2 separate regions of the Homo sapiens genome follow, and region 1 is linked to region 2. Evidence: promoter capture Hi-C in 16 types of primary human blood cells and fetal thymus (Javierre and others, 2016). All regions are on one chromosome and are shown on one strand. The core of a region is centred on a gene start or on the middle of the fragment in contact, and the rest is flanking DNA. Distances in the headings are between cores, read along the strand shown. Region 1 holds the start of YWHAB (tyrosine 3-monooxygenase/tryptophan 5-monooxygenase activation protein beta). Region 2 holds the start of TTPAL (alpha tocopherol transfer protein like).

The links. The method cuts DNA at HindIII sites, captures the fragments that hold promoters and counts their contacts. A CHiCAGO score of 5 or more calls a contact.
Region 1: a contact is called between the fragment with the promoter of YWHAB here and the fragment with the promoter of TTPAL in region 2, in 1 of 17 cell types (naive CD8 T cells). The highest score is 6.3, in naive CD8 T cells.

Annotation. Positions count from the first base shown.
Region 1 is chr20:44,880,051-44,886,954 of GRCh38, reverse strand. YWHAB (tyrosine 3-monooxygenase/tryptophan 5-monooxygenase activation protein beta) reads right to left here and starts at 1,250. Exons shown (of 6, transcript NM_139323.4): 1 at 1,069-1,250. RefSeq lists silencers at 957-1,506, 1,567-1,626 and an enhancer at 904-1,520. The HindIII fragment of the contact is 6,156 bases long and covers 1-5,232 here.
Region 2 is chr20:44,473,617-44,480,401 of GRCh38, reverse strand. TTPAL (alpha tocopherol transfer protein like) reads right to left here and starts at 4,528. Exons shown (of 5, transcript NM_001039199.3): 1 at 4,411-4,528; 2 at 1-417. The coding sequence starts at 402. RefSeq lists a silencer at 4,423-4,552 and an enhancer at 4,643-4,732. The HindIII fragment of the contact is 9,114 bases long and covers 3,637-6,785 here.

The DNA.
Region 1 (6,904 bases), core at 1-2,500, 410 kb before region 2:
GATTTTATGTTCATAGCATCATCTTGCCAAATTCCATCTCCCACACAGGGCAAGCAAAATCAGGACCTGATGCTATCTAGCCTTACCAAAGAGAAATGCAATGAAGGCAACGACAAGAAACATGTATTTTACAGAAAGGTTGGCAAATTGCTTACCAAGGCTGCCACCTCTGAAAACCCCATTATATGGGAGTTCTCCATTTGCGGCAAAGATGCACTCACCTTCCCACCTCTTCTTCCCTCCGCTCCCCACCCCCCGACCAGGAAGCCACCGGGCAAATTTCAGACCGAAAAACGTGCTAACACACAATATGGGGGAATTTGGGGTAAAGACACAAAAGAATCTGGCATTAAATGACGGTAAATACTGTGAGAAAATACTCCGATTCTCACCCCCTGATATTTTTTCCTGGGGATCCGGCCTGACTCAGTAACCGGCTCCAACAAACAGATTTTCTTGATTCAAACCCAATTCCCTTCCTAGGGAATCTTGGGTCCTGCCAGGCTCCATAACCAGTGAAGGATGATGAAATGGTTTTACTGCAAAATGGGAGGGGGTTCCCCCACTGCTGTCTCCCAAGGTTAAACCCCTTACTCATCCAGGAGGAGCCAAACACGGGGACTGGGGCTAGAAAACTCATCCGCGTTTGATTAAATTTTAATTTCTGGAAACCAGAAAGCACGGAGCAGAGGTGACAGGGCTGAAGGGGACGTTCTTGCCGACCAAGACGCAGGGAGGGGTCGCGTGGGGCCCGAAGCAGATAGTGAGGGAGGGTCCGGGATCCCCGGCTCCGCTGTCCCTTACGGCACAGTACGGAGTTGCACCCCGCCCGGCCGGCAGGACCTCAGGCGGCCCGAGCCTCTCCAAGAGGTAAAGGGCCCGGCCCCGGAAACAGGGAGGGGCCGCTGCGAGGTCTGGCCTCGCCGCCGGCGGCCGCGCGGAGCGAAAGAGGCAGCGCGCCGCTACCCCACGGGGCCCACCCACTGGGCCGCCGTCGTCGCAGCAGCCAGAGAGGGGCTTCGAGTTTGGGCCCCCGGGGGCCCCGGTCGGACCCCGCGCCGCACTCACCGTGGGAGGGCTGCAGGGAACAAAGACCCTTCCGAGCGAAGCTCCGAGCGAGATGACCTCTTCCTTCCTAAGCCCACTACTCAGGCGGCGGCAGCGGTGCCTGCAGTGGCTGCAGCGGCGGCGGCGGCGGCGACTACCCCGGCTCCGGAATCGGCGGCGGCGGTGGCGGTAGCTCCACTTCCGCTCCGATCGCCACTTCCGCTCCGGTCCTGGCCGCGCCCCGCCCCAAACCGTGTTCTCATTGGGCAAGCGAGGCACGGGGTTGCCACGGCCCCACGGGAGGGGCGCAGACGGAAGGGAGGAGGAAGAAGAGCGAAAGGCAGGGTTGCAGGGGCCGGGGCAGGGCGGATGGCCGGGGGAGGGACCCAGGAGGAGGTGGGCGGAGAAGAAGGAAATGGGGCGGGGGAGCGGGAAAAGGAGGTGGGAGGAGAGAGGGCGGAGCTGGGGGTGGTCAAGATACGGGCTGTGTGGGAATAAGGAGGACTAGGAGTGTGGTCTGGATGGGGATTGCCCTTTCTGCTGGGACTGGAAACGCGCCAGGGCCAGTCCCGGAGATTCGAGGTTTAGCAGTTCCCCCTCCACCCCGAAAGTAATCCTCACTGGGTCGGAGGCCGATGTCAGTCCTCTTACTGTGTGCTTTGGTAATGCTGGAGCCAGGGAAGAACAGAAATTGCTCATCCCTCAATGTTCATTTAATCCTTTCAATCCTTCAGGGTACTTACCTTTTCCTTCTTTGGTAGACTGAAGAGGCCACGTGAAGTGCCAGGAATCCAATGCACAAACGTCTTTTTAAAAAACCTGTGTAGGGTCGAGCGCAGTGGTTCGCGCCTGTAATCTCAGCACTTTGGGAAGCTGAGGTGAGAGGATTGCTTGAGGCCGGGAGTTGTAGGCTGCAGTGAGCTATGGTCATGCCACTGCACTCCAACCTGGGAGACAGAGTGAGACCCTGTCTCCAAAAAAAACCCACAAAAATCTGTGTACATGATTTCTTCTTTAAGATGCCCCCTCGTTGAGGAAGTTCAGGGAAGGAAACAGGCCTCCATGGCTCCCCTCCCCTCCATGACTGCTCTCACAATTACCAACATTCTACTCCTCTGAAGGTAGTTGATTTTGTTTTGTTTTGTTTTGTTTTGTTTTCTGTTTTTGAGACAGAGTCTCTTTCTGTCGCCCAGGCAGTGTCACAATCTTGGCTCACTGCAATCTCTGCCTCCCAGGTTCAAGCAATTCTCCTGCCTCAGCCTCCTGAGTAGCTGGGATAACAGGTGCATGCCACCACTCTCGGCTAGTTTTTGTATTTTTAGTAGACACGGGGCTTCGCCATATTGGCCGGGCTGGTCTCAAACTCCTGACCTCAGGTGATCCACCCGCCTCAGCCTCCCAAAGTGCTGGGATTACAGACATGAACCACCTCGACCGGCTTCAAGGTAGTTGATTTTTAAACTCAGTCCTTCAAAATGCCTCTCGCCTTCCCTCTCTCCTGTTCATTTATTCTTTCAACAAATGTTGAACAGGCTTTTTGCTTAGTGCTGGAGACACAGCAATGAACAAGGCAGGTGGGGCCCTGCTGTCTTGGAGTTTGCAGTCGGGTAGGAGAAAAAGCCAAGTAAATAGGCCTTTGCCGTCTTGCCTTTACCCTTACTTAGCTAAATGACAGACTTCTAATTCACCATTTGGTCTCAGCCTCGCCCGTCAACTGCCAAGTGATCTTTTAAAAATACCATTCTAATCGTGTCCTGTTCTTGCTTAAATTATTTAGTGTGCACTCAGACCTAGATGACAATATATAAGTTCCTTGAGTGTGACAATCAGGGTTCTCCAAAAGCTGCCCTTATCCTTTAGCTGCTATTTCTCCCCCATCGTAAATACCCCAATTCAATTGGATGATTCCTTACCCTCCCAATATGCCATCTCCAGTATTTCTAAGCAGTTTGACTTAGTTGCCAACACTTTTTTAAACTGAAAAGTTTCTGTGTGAACAGAAATCTGCCTCTCTGCCTTGTCTGGTAACACTGTGTCCACATTTCTGTGTGGCAACAATTGGCTGAAGCCAAGGAGTGGCTGCCTGTTCTAGACTGGGCATGGACTTTCCCAAATGCCAGGGACCCTTCTCGACCTGAGTCTGCTTTTGTCACTTATGTTATCTGTCATGTAGGCATGTGTGCCAGTGACCCCTGTACTGTGCCACCTTTTAAGTTGAACAAGATTGAGAACGTGTTGTGTAACGTAAACAGCATGGTTTTGGGTCAAAACCATTGGATTTGAATCCTGGAGAGGTTAGTGCAAAAACTTCCCCATGAGGATCGTCTTTGGCAGACCCTAGACCAGTAATCTAGAGACTACTCAGGCTAAGTAACTTTTAATGTCACAAGACTGTGCCTTATGCCGTCATCCAGAAAATAGCCTAATGGACCAGAGGGCTAATAATGATTATACCACAAATGACATCAACAGTGCATTGAGGGAACAGAAGTGCCCTTTGTCAGGCATTCCTAGGTGCCTGTTAAAGGGTTCAATGGATTAGCTTATTTCACCATCTCTGCATTCTAGGCCAAGCGTCAGCAAACCACAGCTATGAACTGACAGCGATACAGATAAATGTTAAAATACAATGTGGTAGGTGCAACCATAGAAATAAATATATGTGCAGGGTATTATGGGAGCTTGGGAGAAGAGCACCTAACCCATCTTGGGAATATGATGGGAGAGCAGGAAAGATTTCCTTAAAGAAGTGATACTAGAGCCTTATATACTGCAGTGAATCTTTTTTCAAATTATAGACTTAATTTTTAAAAATGTTTTTGTAGAGACAGAGTCTCATTATGTTGCCCAGGCTGGGCTCAAACTCCTGGCCTCAAGTGATTCTCCTGCCATGGCCTCCCAAAGTGCTGGGATTACAGGTGTGAGCCACTGTGCCTGGCCAATAGACTTAATTTTTTAGAACAGTTTTAGGTTTACAGAAAAATTGACCAGATATTACAGAGTTCCCACATTCCCTCTCCCTCCTCCACACAATTTCCCCTATTATTAACATCTTGTATTAGAGTGGTACATTTGTTGCAATTGATGAGCCAGTATTAATACATCATTATTAACTAAAGTCCGTAGTTTACATTGGGGTTCATTCTTTATGTTGTACATAGTTCTATAGGTTTTGACACATGCATAATGTCATGTATATAAATAAAAGTTTTACTGTCCTAAAAATCTTTGCTTCAACTCTTCATCCCTCACTCCCTCCCCTCACCCCAACCTTTGGCAACCGCAGACCTTTTACACTATAGTTTTACCTTTTCTAGAATGTCATATAGTTACATCATACAATATGTTGCTCGCTTTCTTTCTTTCTTTCTTTCTTTCTTTCCTTCCTTCTTTTTTTTTTTTTTTGACAGGGTGTCACTCTGTCACCCAGGCTGGAGTGCAGTAGTGCAATCACAGCTCACTGCAGCCTCGACCTCCTGGGTTCAAGTGATTCTCCCACCTCAGCCTCCCTAGTAGCTGGGACTACAGGCGTGTGCCACCACACCCAGCTAATTTTTGTATTTTTTATAGAGATGGGGTTTTGCCATGTTGCCCAGGCTGGTCTTGAACACCCAGGCTCAAGCAATCCTCTTGCCTTGGCCTCCTAAAGTGCTGGGTAATAAAGTGTGAGCCATTGTACCCAGCACATATGTCGCCTTTTCTGACTGGATTGTTTTATTAAGTAATGTGATTTAAGTTTCCTTCATGTCTTTTTATGATTTGATAACTTATTTCTTTTGATTGCTTAAAAAATCCCCTTGTATGAATCTACCATATTGTGTTTATGCATGAACTTATTCTTTTTTTTTTTCCAGAGAGAGTCTCACTCTGTTGCTCAGGCTGGAGTGCAGTGGCATGATCTCAGCTCACTGCAACCTCCGCCTCCCAGGTTCAAGTGAGTCTTGCCTCAGCCTCTCAAGTAGCTGAGATTATTGGTGTGTGCCACCATGCCTAGCTAATTTTTTATTTTTAATAGAGACAGGGTTTTGCCATGTTGGCCAGGCTGGTCTCAAACTCCTGACCTTAGGTGATCTGCCTGTCTCGGCCTCCCAAAGTGCTGGGATTACGGGTGTGAGCCACCACACCTGGCCCATTAACCTATTCTTAAGGATTGACTTGTATCCTCCAGAAAGATATGCTGAAGCTTTCACCCTTGGAATCTGTGTATGTGACCTTATTTGGAAAAGGGCTTTTGCAGTATAATCAATTAAAATGAGGTCATTCGAGTGGGTCCTAATCCAACGTGGCTGGTGCCCTAAAGAAGGAGGAAAATGCCATCTGAAGACAGGACACACATGGGAAACAACACATGACAATGGAGGCCGAGACTGGAGTGATGAGCTGTGAGCCAGGGAACACTAAGGATTGCTGGGCAGCACCAGAAGCCAGGAAGAGGCATGGAAGGATTCTACCCAGAGTCTCAAAGGGAGCAAGACTCTGCTGTCACACTGATTTTAGACTTCTAGCCTCCAGAATGGTGAGAGAATATGTTTTTGTGGTTTTAAGCCACCCAGTTTGTGGCCCTTTGTTATGGCAGGCTTAGGGAACTAATAGACCTACTGAGAGCTATCTTGATCCAGCTGTTGACAATTATGAAGAAAACCATGATAAACATCTGTGTGCAGGTTTTTGTTTGGGCATAAGTTTTCAACTTGTTTGAGTAAATACCTAAGAGTGTGACTGTTAGATTATACGTTAAGACAATGTTTAGCTTTGTTAGAAACTAGTAAACTGGCCAGGTGTGGTGGCGCGTGCCTGTAGTCCCAGCTACTCAGGAGGCTGAGGCAGGAGGATCGCTTGAGGCCAGGAGTTCTGGGCTGCAGTGCACTATGTTGCCTGGGCGTCTGCGCTAAGTTCAGCATCAATATGATGACCTCCCGGGAGCAGGGAACCACCAGATTGCCTAAGAAGGGGTAAACTGGCCAAGGTTGGAAACAGAGCAGGTCAAAACTCCCGTGCTGATCAGTAGTGGGATGGTGCCTGTGAATAGCCACTGTACTCCAGCCTGGGCAACACAGCAAGACCCCATCCCTAAAAAAACATTAAAAATAAAAATAGGCTGCCGGGCACGGTGGCTCACGCCTGTAATCCCAGCACTTTGGGAGGCCGAGGCAGGTGGATCACGAGGTCAAAAGATCGAGAACATCCTGGCCAACATGGTGAAACCCCATCTCTACTAAAAATACAAAAATTTGCGGGGTGTGGTGGCGCATGCCTGTAGTCCCAGCTACTTGGGAGGCTGAGGCAAGAGAATCACTCGAACCCGGGAGGCAGAGGTTGAAGTGAGCCAAGAATGTGCCACTGCACTCCAGCCTGGCGACAGAGTGAGACTCCATCTCAGAGAAAAAAAAAAAAAAAGGCCAGGCACAGTGGTTCATGCCTGTAATCCCAGCACTTCAGGAGGCCGAGATCGGTGGATCACCTGAGATCAGGAGTTCAAGACAAGCCTGGCCAACATAGTAAATGAAACCCTGTCTCTACTAAAAAAACAAACAAACAAACAAAAAACAAAAAAAATACAAAAATTAGCCACGCTTGGTGGCGGGTGCCTGTAATCCCAGCTATTTGGCAGTCTGAGGCAGGAGAATTGCTTGAACCTGGGAGGCAAAGGTTACAGTGAGCCAAGATCGTGCCACTGCACTCCAGCCTGGACAACAAACAGAGTGAGACTCTATCTCATAAATAAATAAATAAATAAATAAATAAATAAATAAATAAATAAAATAAAAAAAAAGAAAGATAAAGAAACTACCAAATTGTTTTCCAAAGGAGCTGTACTATTTTGTATTTCCACCAACAGTAACAGCTCCGGTTGCTC
Region 2 (6,785 bases), core at 3,279-5,778:
GGGCAGCACGGTGAGGAACCCGGAAGCAAGGACATCTTTTAAGGCTGATGGCTTCAAGTTATTGAAGACTTCGGGCCAGCTTCTTCTACAGCTGTGGTAGTTGACGAGGAGCTGCAGGGCCCGGTCGTAATCAAACTTGCGGGCTCGGAGGAAGCGCAGCAGGAAGGCATCGTCGAGGGATGTGCTCAGGTTGGGGTACTCCTTCCGCACCATGTCACGAAGGGCCTGCACATCTCGAAGTCTCCATTCCGGCTTTTCCTGCAGCTCTTCCCGGGCTTTGGTGACCAGGTCTTCTGTCAGTGAGCACACATAGCCCGGAGGCTCAGGTGGTGGTGGCAGCTCATTTTCAGAGAGTGAGGCCACAGAAGGGCTGGTTCTCAGAGAGTCACTTTCTTCGGACATTAGCTACCAAGGTCCCTGCCAACAGAGAAGCCCTAAGCAAAGTTAACAAGTGCTTATTTCAAATCCTAGGGCAGTACAGTGTAGGGGACAGGAACACTTCTGTAAAAACCGAGTAACCTCAGGGCAGTGTTTCTCAACTGGGGGCAATGAACTGGATCTAAACCATACACGCAAGTCTGACCCCAGGCCGGCTGCTGTTAGTCCCCAGGGAGGCAGGCAGCAGCTACAGCAGACTATACACTCCCTAATAAACACCAGGGCCTTCCTTATAAATGTATTAATAGGTGCTCGACCTTATTCATCATTAAATAAATGTGAATTAAAACAACTGTAATGTATATGCTGTAATCCCAGCACTTTGGGAGGTTGGGGCAGGCGGATCACCTGACCAGCCTGGCTAACATGGTGAAACCCCATCTCTACTAAAAATACAAAAATTAGGTAGGTGTGGTGAGTGCCTGTAATCTCAGCTACTTGGGAGACTAAGGCAGGATAATTGCTTGAACCCGGGACGTGGAGGTTGCAGTGAGCCGAGATGGCGCTGCTGCACTCCAGCCACAGCAAGACTCTCAAAAAAAAAAAAAAAAAAAAAAAAAAAAACAACTCAGATTCAGATTGGCAAAAATAAACGTACTCTAATATGCTTGCTGCTGCTGGGAGTATAAATTGACAGCCTCTTTGGAGGGCATTTGTCAATATCTTCAGAATGTAAACCTACATGCCCTTTGGGTCAGCAATTCCATTTCTAGGACATATACTTGTATATATATGCATAATATGCACATGGCCTTCACAAGTATTGATTATAATGATAAAAGATTGGAAACATCTTAACTGCCTATCAGGGGAGACTGGTTAAGTAATATTACCATATTAATGGGGTACTAGTCAGTCATGAAAAAGAATTAGGGGGCCGGGCGCGGTGGCTCACGCCTGTAATCCCAGCATTTTGGGAGGCCGAGGCAGGCGACTCATGAGGTCAGGCGATCGAGACCATCCTCGCTAACGCGGTGAAACCCCATCTCTACTAAAAATACAAAAAATTAGCCGGGCGTGGTGGCAGGTGCCTGTAGTCCCAGCTACTAGGGAGGCTGAGGCAGGAGAATGGCGTGAACCCGGGAGGCAGAGCTTGCAGTGAGCCGAGATCATGACTGCACTCCCACCTGGGTGACAGAGCAAGACTCCCTCTCAAAACAAACAAACAAAAAAAGCGAAAAGTAGGCAGATCTTTATGAATTGACATATTAAAAAAGCAAGTTGCAGAATAGTGTACAGAAAATCACGTTTTTAAACTATACACATACACTTGTGAATGCACACAAAACTTCTGGAAAGAGATATAAGAAACTTACCAATGGTTATCTCTTGGAACAGAACTGGACAAGTGAAGATTTAAGATGAGAAAGAGGATTTTTACTATACTGTTTGAATTTTTTACTACACACCCATGTAACTTATCGTGGCAGTCGGGAATATGTGCCGGTCAGATCTGCTGGGAAAACGTAATTGATAAAGGGCCCCAGTGGCTGTCCCTCTAGATCCACTATCCAGGGGAAGCCAGAACTTTCCACAGCCCTTCTGTGGCCTCACTGCTCCTAGCCAATGATTTAGTGAGACATAGGACTCCTCTAACAGGCAGCGTTTGCTTGAGGGCCTGGCCAAACCTTTGTTGGGACTGCCCTGCAGTCAGAGACTTGCTGCCCAAACCTCCTTCACAGGAGCTGATCTGCATCACTGCCAGTGGCTCTTCCTGACTTCTCCAGCTCCCTTCCCAGGTGCTGTCCTTCGCAAGGGTTGCCTCTACATTTCTAGCACGTCTAACCTCATCCTAGTGTCTGCTTCTTAGAGGACCTGAACTCATGCACTTTTTTGTTTAAGAGAGAGACAGGGTCTTGCTCTGTCACCCAGGCTGAAGTGCAGTGGCGCAATCATAGCTCTCTGCAACCTCGAACTCCTAAGTTCAAGCAATCCTCCTGCCTCAGCCTCCCAGGTAGCTGGGACTATAGGCACACACCACGCCTGGCTAATTTTTAAATTTTTTCTTGGGCTGTGTGTGGTGGCTTATGCCTGTAATCCCAACACTTTGGTAGGCTGAAGTGGATGGATCACCTGAGGTCAGGAGTTCGAGACCAGCCTGGCCAACATGGTGAAACCCTGTCTCTACTAAAAATACAAAAATTAGCCAGGCATGGTGGTGCGGGCCTGTAGTGCCAGCTACTTGGGAGGTTGAAGCAGGATAATCGCTTGAAACCAGGAAGCGGAGGTTGCAGTGAGCCGAGATCATGTCACTGCACTCCAGCTTGGGCGACAGGGCGAGACGCTATCTCAGATAAATAAATAAATAAATAAATAAATAGATAGATAGATAAATAAATAAAAATATATTTTAAAAGGACCAATCTGCTGTCTTGAGAATGGACTCTAAGGGAGTGAGGACTGAAGCAGACCATTTAGAGGCTATTGCAATAATCCAGCTGAGAGATGCTGGTGGCCTGGAGTAGGTAGCCTTCACTGACCCCCAGCCAGGTTAGGTGCCTCCCCCGCACTTCTCCCACCCTGTTGCAATTGTCTGTTGGCAATTTGTGAGCAACATCCAAGTTTGTCTTGTTCATCACCTGAAACCCAGCGCCTAACATGGTGTTAGACACATAATCTGCACTCCATAAATATTTGTTGAATGACTTTAGTCTGGTTGGCACAGGTATGCTAAGTGAGGAATGGAACAACTATGGCTTTGTTTCTATGGAAGTAACCAAGAGATGCCTGCAATCCCATCAAACATCAGTGTTCACAAGGTACAAGCCTCACCTCAAAGCCCCTCTCCAGCCTCATTTTCCATCGCACCCCACCTTGATGCACATTAAATGCCAGTCAAAACAAACTAATAACCCATCATCCTTGGAATAACTCGTGCACTTCTGATACACTCTGCCTGGAATTTCCTCTTCTAATTTGTTCCTAACTTGACAGCTCAGGCTCAGCTGCCATGTCACCACCTCAGTGAATCCTTCCCAAACTCCCTGAGGGTGATTCCCTCCAGTTTTCCACAGAACTGGGTTCCTATTTCTTTTTTAGAAATTACAGTCCAATGCTATGGGCATTTATCTAGAGTCAGTTTCACCACGCACTCATTTATCAAATAATTACCGATCACCTACCATATATGTCAGGCACTGTGCTCACAGGCACTGGGAACACAGACGCAAACAATACAATTCCTTGCCTAATAAAGCTTACATTATAGTGGAATGAAGAGAATGCATACTTGAGCATTTTACCATGTATCAAGCATTGCTAAGCCCTTTACCCATTTCCTCATTTAATCTTCACGTTATTTGGTGAGAGCGCTATTACTGTTGCCATTTTACAAAGGAGGACAAAAAGGACTGTCCCCTAGAATCTAAGTTCCACGAGGGCAGAGGGCTTGTCTGCCATGTCCACTGCCACCCCCAGTGCCGGGCACATGGCAGTGGTCTGTACACATCAGCGGAGGATATAGGTTAAGCGATTCGCCCAAGGGGGCACACCCGGTGAGGCAGAGCAAGGATGCGTCTAGCCCCACCCTGGGCTTCTAATCTGTACCCTCCACCTGGAGCTTCATGTTGACTCTCCAGGGACTCAGCAGTGCCGAGCGCTCAGCAGGACTCAGTCACAGGCTGGTGAATGAGCTGACAGGCGGACATATGAGTGAGATGCAGACACCATTGGTAACGGTGAAGCCAAAGATCTCCCCCACCTGGAGCCCATCCTTTCTGGAGCATCACTTTCCTTTCCACCCCTTCCTCTCAACAAGGAGAGGTCAGGAAGCCATCTCTCCTAGAGCCCCCGAGACCCCATATCCCGTGGACAACCTTCCGAGGCCCCCACTTCCGGCTGTCACCCCCTCCCCAGGTGTCCCCATTTCCTGGGGTCTCTCGCTCCTCTGGTCCCCACTTCCGGTTATCCTTCCCTCTCAGGGGTCCCTCTCCTCAGCTCCCAGGGCACACGGATGGGCTCGCGGGCACTCACCGGCCCGACTACGGGCGGAGCGCGGGTCAATCGGCGGCGGGAGCCTCGTCCGGCAGCGCACGCAGAACCGACCCGCACTCCCTGCCCGGCCTGCCCGGCCTCTCGCGCCGGAAGTGACGATCCAGGGCGTGGGAGGCGGGGCTCCGCCTAGGAGCGCGCATGTGCGACGCCTCCCCGCGGCGTTGGTGTTCAGTCCCCACCTGGCTGCCGGAGCTCCGAGCTGCGGACCTGGAGTGGCTGGGAGGAGCTGGGGCACCAGCCGCTTGTCAAACCCGGCTTATAGATGGGGAAACTGAGGCTCAGAGAAGGAAGGAAAGAAGCTGCCATTTTCCAAGAACATGCTAACATGTACCTGTTGTTTAACATCCATGATCTCATTAACTCCTCATATTTATGCAATTCCCCTATTTCAGGAAAGGGAAACTGGCAATCAAGGCAGTAAAGGGCTTCAAACCCGGACCTCAGGATTAGCATTCTAGACTTCCCCCCACTATGGCTGCTATCAGGACTAGCTGCTCCAAAAAGGGAGACTCCAAACCAGGGGACATCTGTCTGTCATTAACTGAGTGACCTGGAGCAAGTCCCCATTCCTTCTTGTGCTTCCGTTTCCTTACCTGAAACCTGATTCTTGCTCTGGAGCCTGATTCAATAATTACTTTTTTCCTGCTTTGGGGTTCATTACGTTCCCTCCAGACAAAGGCTTTACTAACTCCCACCCCAGTCCATTAAGATCCGCCCGCAAGTATTTTGTGCAACTGCAACTTTGAGGCAAATCTCCTAGGTCCCTCTGAGGCAGAACCTCTGGTGGTCCAGGAGAACTCTGAGCCTAAAGAAACGACCTTAAACAGTCTTTTCATTTTCCTACCCCAGGGGCAAGAGGAGTCCCAAGAAGATGGGAAGTGACCCATGAGGGCCACAAGAACGTGGCAGTTTCTGCCAGATTGAGGGGCAGGGGGCAGCAGTATGGAGGCGACCTGGGAATCATGAGTTTTGACTCCTGCTCTCAGTTTCATCACTTCTAAGATTGACAGACAAAATATATAACATTCACTACAGTTTGAATTTCAGATAAACATTTAAGCATGTTCCTTTCCAAACACACACACACATACACACAGATAAGTGTGTCCTATGCAACATTTGGGACACATTTATACTTTAAAAATTGTTGTTTATAGGAAATTCAAATATGACTACTGGGCATCCTGGATTTTGTTTTGTTTGCTAAATCTATGTATTATTTTCCTGTTACTGTTACAAGGAATTACTGCAAACTTCATGGATTGAAACAACACAGATATATTCTCTTGCAGTTCTCTAGGTCAAAAGTCTAAAATCAAGGTGTTGGCAAGGCTGCATTCTTTTGGGGATTTGGAGGAAGCATCAGTTCCTTTCCTTTTACAGTTTGTAGAGGCCACCTGCATTCCTTAGCTTATGGCCCCTTCTTCAAATCACCTCAACCTCTGGCTTCTGTTGTCACCTCTACTACTGACTGATCCTCCTGCTTCCCTCTTCTTATAAGGACTCTTGGGATTACATTGGGCTCAGCCAGATAATCCAGGATAATCTTACCATCTCAAGATCCTTACATTAATCACATCTGTGAGATCTTTTAAAACGTAAGGTAAGGCCGGGTGCAGTGGCTCACGCCTGGAATCCCAGCACTTTGGGAGGCTGAAGCAGGTGGATCACTTGAGATCAGGAGTATGATGAGACCACCCCAGCCAACATGGTGAAACCCTGTCTCTACTAAAAATACAAAAATTAGTTGGGCGTGGTGGCACACGCCTGTAATCCGAGGCCCCCACTTCCGGCTGTCACACCCAACTATGCGGGAGCCTGAGGCAGGAGAATCACTTGAACCCAGGAGGCAGAGGTTGCAGTGAGCCGAGATCATGCCACTGCCCTCCAGCCTGGGCGACAGAGCGAGACTCTGTCTCAAAAAGAAAACCCCCCAAAACAGCCGGATGTGGTGGCTCATGCCTATAATCTCAGCACTTTGAGAAGCCAAGGCAGGTGGATCACCTGAGTTCAGGAGTTCGAGACCAGCCTGGCCAACCTGGTGAAACCCTGTCTCTACTAAAAATACAAAAATTAGCCAGGCCTGTAATCCCAGCCACCTGGGAGGCTGCCTGGGCTCAAGCCATTCTCCTGCGCCCTGCCAAATGGCAGCTCTTGTGGCAAAGGGTGAGGGATGACCCTGTCCTAACCAGGCTGTCCTAGGTATTGGAATAAATTCACCCCTCTCCTTAACCCAAACCTAGGACCTACTACTGGTACCTGGAGCCCAGATGGCAATCCTAGATGTTGCCAGCAGGAGAAGAACTTGGTCTCAAGGGCAGGGCAGGGAGAGGATTCAGAGATGCCCCAGAAAT